Linked DNA regions of Homo sapiens: region 2 is linked to region 1. The links are contacts of gene promoters, found by promoter capture Hi-C in human tissues and cell types (Jung and others, 2019). All regions are on one chromosome and are shown on one strand. The core of a region is centred on a gene start or on the middle of the fragment in contact, and the rest is flanking DNA. Distances in the headings are between cores, read along the strand shown. Region 1 holds the start of ASB16 (ankyrin repeat and SOCS box containing 16). Region 2 has its middle 4.2 kb from the start of CCDC43.

Region 1 (5,841 bases), core at 1,702-4,201:
CATCCAGCATGGCAGACCCACATCAACAGCATAGATAGGTGCTTTACAGCGTGCCCCTGAGTCCTTCAGGAGTGCAGATTGGGCAGTGGCTGGAACTATAAGAGTCAGGCAATGGGTTGCTGAAGAGACCTCTCAGAGCAGGTGACCTTAGGGGTAGATCCTCAGGAAGGTGTTGAGGGAATTCTGAGCTAAGGGAATGGCCTGACAGGGAACGGTTGTGGGGAGCCGTGCGTGATGAGGATGCCTACCCTACGTGAGTGGCATGGGGCCAAACCAAGGAATTGGGGGCTTAGTTGAAAAGGGCAGGCCAGGTGCAGTGGCTCACACCTGTAATCCCAGCAATTCAGGAGGCTGACTTGGGAGGACTGCTTGAGGCCAGGATTTGGAGCCCTATTTTAAAAAAATGAAAGGACAGGTATTGGAAGGCAGCAGAAGTTTTTAAGCAAGGGAATTAACCATTTTAGACAGATCATTCCGGCAGCGGAGCAGAAGGGATATGGCCAGAGGAAGAAACACCAGGTGAAAGACTGAGTTGATCCAGGTTTAAGGCATTACATCGAGGGGCTGAACTTGAGACAGTCCCTGAAAATGTAAGAACAGGAGCTAGAACTTGCTTATGGGAAGGGCCTAGGGAGAGGAAGAAATAAAAGATCACTGGGCAAGGTGCTGCTGCAGGGCCAGGAGGCAGGACAGGCAGCGGGAGAAGGGCCAGGAGGAGCCCCAGATGCAGAGGGGACAGACCAGCCCTGCCTGCAGGCCGCTGTGCACTGAGTGAGCTCAGGGTGAGCAGAGCTTTTGAGCCCTCCCCTTCCCCAGCTTGGCAGGCACACCAGCTTGTGTGGTTTCACGGCTTCATTCCTCCCCCTAGAGGCTCCTGGAAGCACAGCTGCTTTCTCCTAAGAGTGAACAGGTCTGTGGCTTAAACATCTTAGGTCCATTCCCAGAGTTTCCAGCTCAACCCCTTGGCTCTCCTCAGGCCGGCCATGTGAGCCCCCTTAGCAGCTGGGTTAAAAAAATAAATCAAGGATGATTGAAGGTGCTGGGAGCTGTGGCTCACGCCTGTAATACCAACACTTTGGGGGGCCGAGGCGGGCAGATCGCCTGAAGTCAGGAGTTTCAGACCAGCCTGGCCAACATGGCGAAACCGACTACTAAAAATACAAAAATCGGCCGGGCGCGGTGGCTCACGCCTGTGATCCCAGCACTTTGGGAGGCCGAGGCGGGCGGATCACGAGGTCAGGAGATCGAAACCATCCTATTCTTGGCTAATACGGCGAAACCTTGTCTCTACTAAAAATACAAAAAATTAGCCAGGTGTGGTGGCAGGCGCCTGTGGTCCCAGCTACTCGGGAGGCTGAGGCAGGAGAATGGCGTGAACCCGGGAGGCGGAGCTTGCAGTGAGCCGAGGTCGCGCCACTGCACTCCAGCCTGGGTGACAGAGCGAGACTCCATCTCAAAAAAAAAATAATAATAAATAAAAATACAAAAATCAGCTGGGCATGGTGGCATGCACCTATAATCCCAGCTACTCAGGCAGCTAAGGCAGGAGAATCACTTGAACCCCAGGAAACGGAGGTTTCAGTGAGCCGAGATCACCCCACTGCACTCCAGACTGGGTGACACCATGAGAAAAAAAAAAAAAGGATGATTGAAGGCAGTTTCTACAGACTAGTCTGTCCTGCTTGGAGAATGGGGGAGGCTGCCAGGTGGCTGCAGCAGCTGAAGGCAAAAAGTGTACCATCTTTTTTTTTTTTTCTTCTTTTTTTAAGAGATGGAGAGGCAGGGGGTGGTGGCTCACGCCTATAATCCTAGCACTTTGGGAGGCCGAGGCGGGCAGACCACGAGGTCAGGAGTTCGAGACCAGCCTGGCCAACATGGTGAAACCCTAAATTAAATCTCTACTAAAAATACAAAATTTAGCTGGGCATGGTGGCGGGTGCCTATAATCCCAGCTACTCAGGAGGCTGAGGCAAGAGAATCGTTTGAGCCCGGGAGGCGGAGGTTGCAGTGAGCCAAGATCGTGCCATTGCACTCCAGCATGGGAGACAGGGTGAGACTCTGTCTCAAAAAAAAAAAAAAAAAAAAAAAAGATATAGGTCTCACTGTGTTGCCCAGGATTGTCTCAAACTCCTAGGCTCAAGCAATCCTCCTGTCTTGGCCTCCCAAAGTGCTAGGATTACAGGCATGAGCCACCATTCTTGGCCCAAAGCACACCATCTATGTGGGGTCCTGGCTCTGCCTCTCACAAACTGTGACCTTGAGCCAGTAGATTACTTTGTTAAGCCTTAAATTCCTCATCTGTAAAACAGAGATAAGACCACCCATCTCAGGGGCATTCAACTGTGATAATTTCATTTATTGTCCAAACCAAGTTTACTAATTATTGGGTGGGCTGGGAAGTATGATCCCCTGGGTGAAGGTGGATATGAATGTGATTTAAACACCGTGAAACTCTGTGCATATGTACAGAGTTATTGCTGTTACTGCAGATGCTGGGAAGAGCTGCTCACCTTCTCAGTAACTCTGCCTTGACCTCCCCTTACCTCCTGTGCTGAGGTCAGCCCTCTCTCCTCCACGTGGGCCAATGGTGGCTCCTGCCCTCCAGCCAACATCAGAGAGGCTGGAGGCACCTTGTCTTCCTCCCAGCCCTGCCCATCTCCATGACTGACCTTTTTGCGCACCCTGGACCTTGCCAACCCAAGATGCTCGCTCTAGAGATGAAGGTGGATGCAGATGCTGGGGTTCGGGGGTGGCCTCAGCTGAGGGCCTGCTGACCAACCAAAGGGTATCGGCAGGGGCAGGGGCTGGCCCTCACCCTGGGCTGGGGGTTGGGCCAGCAGCTTCTCAGCACCAGGATCATGACTCTGAGCAAACCATGTTTACCAGAGCAGCAAAGGACCTATTTATAGCCTCAGCTGCTGCTTTCTCTGGCTCACGGTGGCGGGGGCAGGGTGGCTCCTCAGAGCAAGGGAGGTAGTCGGGTCGAGGGAACCTGGCTCTGCCCAGGTGCCACTGCCCAAACCCCTGGGCCCCATCCATGGCAAGAGAGACCTTCCCCTTCACCTCCTCCATGCTGCGCTCTCTCCGCCTGCAGCAGGAGTGGCTGGAATGGGAGGACCGGCGGCGGGCGGCTGCCCAGCAGTGCCGGAGCCGCAGGTGCCCGTCAAGTCCCCGGGCCCGACTCACTAGGCCTCACCGTTCCTGCCGAGACCCAGCTGTCCACCAAGCCCTCTTCTCCGGCAACCTGCAGCAGGTCCAAGCCCTGTTCCAAGATGAAGAGGCCGCCAACATGATTGTGGAGACTGTGAGCAACCAGCTGGCCTGGTCGGCTGAACAGGGTAGGGGGCACCAGAAGAGGGCAGAAGAGGAGGGAGAAAGAAGGGGAGTGGGTGGGGAAGGGGGAGAGTCTAGGCCCCTCCTTCCCTGCAGACCACAGACTATAGCAGCCCTTTCCACCACCTATCCTAGCTCCCTCCTAAACAGAGATGAGGCAGGGTTAGCAGTCTGTATGTCTTTTAAGAATTAAAAGTTGACCGGGCACAGTGGCTCACGCCTGTAATCCCAGCACTTTGGGAGGCCAAGGCAGGCGGATCACGAAGTCAGAAGTTTGAGACCAGCCTGACCAACATGGTAAAACCCCATCTCTACTAAAAATAGAAAAATTAGCCGGGCATGGTGGTGCGCACCTGTAATCCCAGCTACTCAGCAGCTGAGGCAGAAGAATCACTTAAACCCGGGAGGCGGAGCTTGCAGTGAGCCAAGATAGCGCCACTGCATTCCAGCCTGGGGGACAGAGCGAGACCCTGCCTAAAAAAAAAAAAAAAAGAGACAAGGTCTCACTATGTTGCCCAGGCTCATCTCGAACTCCTGAGGTCAAGTGATCATCCCGCCTTGGCCTCCCAAAGTGCTAGGATTACAGGTGTGAGCCACCACCCCAGGCCCCAAGGTGAACAAGCCTTTGACACTATTAGCCATTCAAAGACGCTGAGATTTCCTTAATGGGAGTCACTCTACTTAGTTGGCCCCTGTGGTTTTATACAGCAATTAATTTTTTTATGACACATACTATGTTTTGTTACAGATTGATAAGCTGTATTAAAAGGCTGTTCCAATTTATTCTTCCACTTCAGGACTTGAATAAGCCCCCTTCCACAGGTACAGCCTGGCAGTGTTTGTGCTCAGCAAACCATGCAGAGGGAAGGCCAGTGTCAGCTGTCAGCTGGAACCAGCATCCCCACTCCCTGCCCTGCCCTGTCTTATACACCACCTCCCAAAACTATTTGCTCTCCCTAGGGTTCTGGGTGCTGACCCCCAAGACCAAGCAGACGGCACCCCTCGCCATCGCTACAGCCCGAGGCTACACAGACTGTGCTCGACACCTGATCCGGCAGGGAGCTGAGCTGGATGCCCGTGTCGGGGGTCGCGCTGCCTTGCATGAGGCCTGTGCCCGAGCCCAGTTTGACTGTGTGCGGCTGCTGCTGACCTTCGGAGCCAAGGCTAATGTGCTGACTGAGGAGGGCACGACTCCTTTGCACCTCTGCACGATCCCCGAGTCCTTGCAGTAGGTGCCTGGGGGCTGAGACAGTTTGGGGAGAAATGTGTGTGTGTGTCTCCAGCTCACAAGGCCAGAAGAGGGAACCTGACAACCACATGCAGCTTTGTGGTTCATAAAGCACCGCATATACACATCTTCACAATAACCTGGAGACACCTCATCCTACAGATGAGAAAAATGAAGCTCAGAAAGGCTTAGTAACTTGTCCAAGGTCACATCTGCTAAGCCCAGGAGGCAGAAGCCCTGTTGCTTTTTGGGAAAACTCTGTTCCAACTGCAGTCTCCAATACCCTGTGAATCCTTTGTAGCCAAACCTAGCTGTTTTTTTTTGTTTTTTGAGACGAAGTCTTGCTCTGTTGCCCAGGCTGTAGTGCAGTGGCGTGGTCTCAGCTCACTGCAACCTCTGCCTCCTGGGTTCAAATGCCTCAGCCTCCCAAGTAGCTGGAATTACAGGTGTGTGCCACCACACCTGGCTAGGTTTTGCATTTCTAGTGGAGATGGGGTTTTGCCATGTTGGCCAGGCTGGTCTTGAACTCCTGTCCTCAAGTGATCCACCCACCTTGGCCTCCCAAAGTGCTGGGATTACAGGCGTGAGCCACCATGCCCAGCCCAAATTCCTAGTTGTTTTGAGGTATTAAGAAAGATCTGGCCAGGTGTGGTGGCTCACACCTGTAATTCCAGCTACTAGTAGGTCGAGGCACAAGAATCGCTTGAACCCGGGAGGCAGAGGTTGCAGTGAGCCGAGATTCTGCCACTGCACTCCAGCGAGACTGTCTTAAAAAAAAAAAAAAAAAAAAAAAAGCCGGGCGCCATGGCTCACGCCTGTAATCCCAGCACTTTGGGAGGCTGAGGCGGGTGGATCACGAGTTCAGGAGTTCAAGACCAGCCTGGCCAACATAGTGAAACCCCGTCTCTATTAAAAATACAAAAAATTAGCCAGGCTGGGCATGGTGGCTGGCGCCTGTAATCCTAGCTACTCGGGAGGCTGAGGCAGGAGAATCGCTTGAACCCGGGATGCAGAGGTTGCAGTGAACCGAGATTGTGCCACTACACACTAGCCCCTGCAACAGTTGAGACTCCATCTCAAAAAAAAAAAGACCTATGGGCCAGATTCAGTGGCTCACACCTGTAATCCCAACACTTTTGGAGGCGGAGGCAGGAGGATTGCTTGAGTCCAGGAGTTTGAGAATAGTTTGGGCAACGTAAGTGAGGTTTTTGTCTCTACTAAAAATAAAAACTAGCCGGGTATGGTGGCATGAGCCTCTAGTCCTAGCTACTCGGGAGGCT
Region 2 (5,757 bases), core at 2,391-4,890, 520 kb after region 1:
AGATAAGGAGACAGATATGGAGAGAGTCACACAACTAGAGGGCGCCTAACCAGTGGCAAGAACTCTTCTTTGGCAGAGTTATGAGAGCTTCAGCTGACGTCAAAACACCTGGCTCTGGGCTGGAATGAATTACCCAAGAATTTGGTTGGCTTTAGCTGAAGTGCAGAGGAAGCTGGCAAGGTCCTGGCTAACTCCTTCCTCAAATATGTACTGAGTACCTTCAGTATGGCATTGTTGCTGGCACTGAAAACACAAAAATGAATGTCACAAAATATATGTCCTCAGGGGTTTTTAATCCATTAGGAACAGACATGTTTAAACAAATGATGACAATATAGTGATATAAATGTTTTAATGGAGCTTTATCTAGCGGAGATTGCAGTAGGATGCCTAGAAGATTGAGTTAACTTTACCTGTTGGAGTGGAGTTGGAAGCAGGTGGGGAGAGGTTCATAGGAAATCCAGGAAGGCTTCCCAGTGGAGATGATGCTTGAACTTTCTTGAAGAATGGTAGGAGTTCTTTACATAAAGGGACTGGAGGGAAAAAGGGGGTAGATCCAGATGCAGGGGAACTGTGAATTCAAAGGCTTGCTAGGGGGCCTCCAGAGAGTCATGTATGGCTTGAGCTACAGGATTCAAATAGAAGATATTCAGGGGATAACAACAAAAAAAGAAGGAAAGGAGTTTGTATACCTTGCAGAGGTCCTCTTATTGCAGAGGTCTACCCTTAGTGGCATTGGGATTATGTAAATGAATGGACACTAAATGAATGGCACAGATACAAATGTAAGAAATATGGCAGAGTGTGAATTTTAGTTGCGTGGCTTCTGTGTGCTCGCTGAGTTAGATAGAATGTGACACTAACAGAGTCAGAGGCCAGAGTCAGCCTCCAAAGGCTTGCCTCTTTTTCAAGTCCTCAGTTATTCTTTCTAATCTAGTAGCTGTCTTGCAGGTAGGGCTTGTCAGTTCACAGACCTGGGTGCCATCATGGCTCAAGGATGATAGCTGGTCAGTGCAGAGCCCCCAAACCAGAAAAACATCACAAAATTTTGTTTTTTAGAAATACAGCCTCACAAGAAGTTTCAAAAATAGTACATAGAGTCCTGCACACCTTCACCCAGTTTCCCCCAATAGTAACATCAAACATAAAGACAGTATAATAGTAAATCAGGAAATTGATATAGGTATTATGCAATAAGGTTTTTTTGGTTTTTGTTTTGAGGTGGAGTCTCACGGTTGTCGTCCAGACTGGAGTGCAGTGGTATGATCTCAGCTCACTACAACCTCCGTCTCCTGGGTTCAAGCAATTCTCCTGCCTCACCCTTCCATGTAGCTGGGATTACAGGCACCCAGCACCACACCCGGCTAATTTTTTTCCTATTTTTAGTAGAGATAGGGTTTTGCCATGTTGGCCAAGCTGGTCTCAAACTGCTGATCTCAGGTGATGCACCTGCTTCGGCATCCCAAAGCGCTGGGATTACAGGCATGAGACACTGCTCCTGGCCATAATGCAATAAGGTTTTTTGAAAGCATCAACAAGCTTCTCAAAAACTGAATCAAGGTTCTCCAGACCCTAAATTTTAAGAATATCCTCAATGGCTATTTTACTACAAAAGTAACATAGCTCATGCTTTAAAAAATATTATATAAGGCCAAGCACGGTGGCTCACGCCTGTAATCCCAGCACTTTGGAAGGCCAACGCGGGTAGATCAACTGAGGTCGGGAGTTCGAGACCAGCCTGGCCAACTGGTGAAACCCCATCTCTACTAAAAAAATACAAAAAAATGGCCCTGCGCGGTGGCTCACACCTGTAATCCCAGCACTTTGGGAGGCCGAGGCGGGCAGATCACGAGGTCAGGAGATCGAGACCATCCTGGATAATAGGTGAAACCCCGTCTCTACTAAAAATACAAAAAAAAATTAACTGGGTGTGGTTGCGGGCGCCTATAGTCCCAGCTACTAGGGAGGCTGAAGCAGGAGAATGGCGCGAATCCGGGAGGCAGAGCTTGCAGTGAGCCGAGATCTGACCACTGCTCTCCAGCCTGGGCAACAGAGTGAGACTCCATCTCAAAAAAAAACAAAAAAAACAAAAAAATTAGCCAGCTATGGTGGTAGGCGCATGTAATCCCAGTTACTTGGGAGGCTGAGGCAGGAGAATTGCTTGAAACCAGGAGGCGGAGGTTACAGTGAGCTGAGATTACGCCATTGTACTCCAACCTGGGCAACAAGGGCAAAACTCTGTCTCAACAAAAAAAAAGAAAAAATTATATAAATGGATAAGCGACAAATTGAAAGCTTACAAAAAATAAAATACGCAAATTAAGATTGCAGTGAAATACCACGTCCGCTTTTCAGATCAAAAAAGTCTGATAATATGCTGTATTGAACTGTGCTTGGGTAAAAGACATTGGAAAATGTTAGAGCAGAAAGTAAATGGATCTGGTCTTGTTGGAGGACTGTTTGTTTGAAAAGACCCAGCATTTCTGCTTCTGGGAATTTGTTCATAAGTTATTCATTTATTTTTATCTTTACTTGTGGTAAAATACACAATTTGCCATCTTAACTATTTTTAAGTATACGATTTAATAGTGTTAAGTATTAATTATTTTTAAAATTTTTGGTTTAAACTGGGCGTGGTGCCTGTTTAAACTGGGCGTGGTTTAAACTGGGCGTGGTTGGCTGGGCGCGGTGGCTCACGCCTGTAATCCCCGCACTTAGGGAGGCCAAGGTGGGTGGATCACTGAGGTCAGGAGTTCAAGACCAGTCTAGCCAACATGGCAAAACCCTGTCTCTACTAAAAATATAAAAATTAGCCAGGTGTGGTAATGCATGCCTATAGTCCCAGCTACTTGGCCACTTGAGAAGCTGAGGCAGGAGATTCACTCGAATTCGGGACACGGAGGTTGCAGTGAGTTGAGATAATGCCACTGCATTCCAGCCTGGGCAACAGAGTGAGACTCTGTCTCAAAAAAAGAAAAAAATTTTGATTTAATATTTTGTATAATGGCCAGGCACACTGGCTTACACCTGTAATCCCAGTACTTTGGGAGGCTGACAAGGGAGGATTGCTTGAGGCCAGGAGTTCGAGACTAACCTGGTCAACATAATGAGACCCCAGCTCTACAAAAAAAAAAAGTGGTGGTGCATGTCTTTTGTCCTACCTACTCAGGAGGTTGAGGCAAGAGGATCACTTGAGCCCAGGAGCTCAAATTTACATGAGCTATGATGATGCCACTGCATTCTAGCCTGAACAACAGAACAAAACTCTGTCTTTAAAAAATAAAACTGTGCATTTGTGTAGAATCACATTTTTCTAAGGATATTCATTGTAGTGAAGCTTTTTGTAGTAAAAGAATAGTCTACATTTTATGTATATGAGACTGGTTCAAAAACTCTGGTAGCCACACAAAGAAGTATTGCACAGCTGTAAAAAAAAAAAAAAAAATGAACAAAGAGGCCGGGCGCGGTGGCTGGTGCCTGTAGTCCCAGCACTTTGGGAGGCCAAAGCAGGTGGATCACCTGAGGTCAAGAGTTCGAGACCAGCCTGGCCAACTAAAAATACAAAAATTAGCTGGGCATGGTGGTAAGCACCTGTAATCCCAGCTACTCGGGAGGCTGAGGCAGGAGAATCGCTTGAATCCAGGAGGCAGAGGTTGCAGTGAGAGGAGATCATGCCATTGCTCTCCAGCCTGGGCTACAGAGCAAGACTCCGTCTCGAAAAAAAAAAAAAAAAAAGAACAAAGAAGCTCTTTATGCACTGACATGTATCAAAGTTCGAGATACATTGTTTAAAAAGTACAGATCAACAATATGTAATGCTTGCCACCATCACTATTTAAAAAGAAGTTAGGGTAGGGGAATACATGTACATATGTGTCCTTGTATGTGCATAGGCTATCTCTGGAAAGATACACCAGGGATATGTGAGAATGGTTGTCCACTGAGGAGGAGAACTGAAGGAGACTGGTTTTGAACTGTTATATTTATTTACTTTGTATCTTTTTGTAAAAGAAAGCAAATTTGAAGCCCTTTCTCCAACCTCATTTTCTCCCCTCTCTCCCCAGATGTAACCACTATTCCTGAATTTGGTGTTTATTTTCTTCTTGAATGTTTTTAAACATAGTACACATTGCTACATATATAATACATATTACAACATATGGATGTATCCATAATATATCACATTGGTGTGCATGCTGTACTTTTCATTCTGCAATGTGCTTTTTCACTCAAGGTTGTTTAAAATATTTACCCATGTTGGGCCGGGCGCAGTCGCTCATGCCTGTAATCCCAGCACTTTGGGAGGCCTAGGCGGGTGGATCAGCTGAGGTCAAGAGTTTGAGACAAGCCTCACCAACATGGTGAAACCCCATCTCTACTAAAGCTACAAAAATTAACTGGGCGTGGTCACGCACGCCTGTAATCCCAGCTACTTAGGAGGCTGAGGCAGGAGAATAGCTTGAACCTGGGAGGCGGAGGTTGCAGTGAGCCAAGACTGCGCCACTGCACTCCAGCCTAGGTGACAGAGCAAGACCCTGTCTCAAAAAATATATACGTGTATATGGCCGGGCACGGTGGCTCATGCCTGTAATCCCAGCACTTTGGGAGGCCAAGGCGGGCGGATCACCTGAGGTCAGGGGTTCGGGACAAGCCTGACCAACATGGAGAAACCCCATCTCTACTAAAAATGCAAAATTAGCCAGGTTTGGTGGCACATGCCTGTAATCCCAGCTACTTGGGAGGCTGAGACAGGAGAATCGCTTGAACCCGGGAGGCGGAGGTTGCGGTTAGCCGAGATCGCGCCATTGCACTCCAGCCTGGGCAACAAAAGCGAAACCCCATCTCAAAAAAAAAAAGAAAAAAATATATATAATATATATGTATCTATATATATTTTATATATATCTTTACCCATGTTGATATATGTAGCTCTTATCCATCCATTTAAATCACTGCATAGTATTCCGTTGCTTTAATATGCTCCAGCTGATCCATTCCTCTGCCGATGGATGGTGAGGTTAGTTCCTAGTTTTCCAGTCAGTGCACCAGTTCACATTCTTAGGTGGTCCCCTTGCCCACCATGGGAAAGTTCCTCTAGATCAGTGAGCATCAGACATTTTTGCCACATACTCTTAGCAGTAAAAATATTCTCAGCATGTACACCTAATGCACTAATATGTAGTTATTTATGAATTATTTGTGTGAACTGCTATATCAAATTAGTATGTCCATCATAAAACATACAAAAAGAGAACTACAAAAAGGAGAAAATCGTTAAAAAATGAAGTAGGCCGGGCGTGATGGCTCACACCTGTAATCCCAACACTTTGAGAGGCCGAGGTGGGTGGATCACTTGAGGTCAGGGGTTCAAGACCAGCCTGGCCAACATGGTGAAACCGGGTCTGTACTAAAAATACAAAAATTAGCCGAGCAATGGTGGTGGGCATCTGTAATCCCAGCTACTCGGGAGTCTGAGGCAAAAGAATCGCTTGAACCCGGGGAGCGGAGGTTGCAGTGAGCCAAGATTGAACCACTGCACTCCAGGCCTAGGCGACAGAGCAAGACTCCGTCTGAAAAAAAAAAAAAAAGAAAGAAGTACATAATATAAATATTTATTATTTGTAGTATACCAAAAGTCCTTAGTAAAAATAATGTAGTTGAAGATGTTTCATTACCACCCCCACTTCTTTATTTATTTTTATTTTTAATTGTGGTAAAATATGTAATTTGGCATTTTAATCTTTTTTTTTTTTTTTT

Evidence for each region. The method cuts DNA at HindIII sites, captures the fragments that hold promoters and counts their contacts. A contact is called where the count stands out against the background at its distance.
Region 2: a contact is called between a fragment that was not itself captured here and the fragment with the promoter of ASB16 in region 1, in 1 of the 25 tissues and cell types used here (dorsolateral prefrontal cortex).

Annotation. Positions count from the first base shown.
Region 1 is chr17:44,167,753-44,173,593 of GRCh38, forward strand. ASB16 (ankyrin repeat and SOCS box containing 16) reads left to right here and starts at 2,952. Exons shown (of 5, transcript NM_080863.5): 1 at 2,952-3,338; 2 at 4,294-4,561. The coding sequence starts at 3,038. The HindIII fragment of the contact is 17,920 bases long and covers 2,559-5,841 here.
Region 2 is chr17:44,691,093-44,696,849 of GRCh38, forward strand. No RefSeq gene overlaps it. Among named protein-coding and RNA genes, the nearest start is that of CCDC43, 4.2 kb to the left of the region's middle. The HindIII fragment of the contact is 6,435 bases long and covers 424-5,757 here.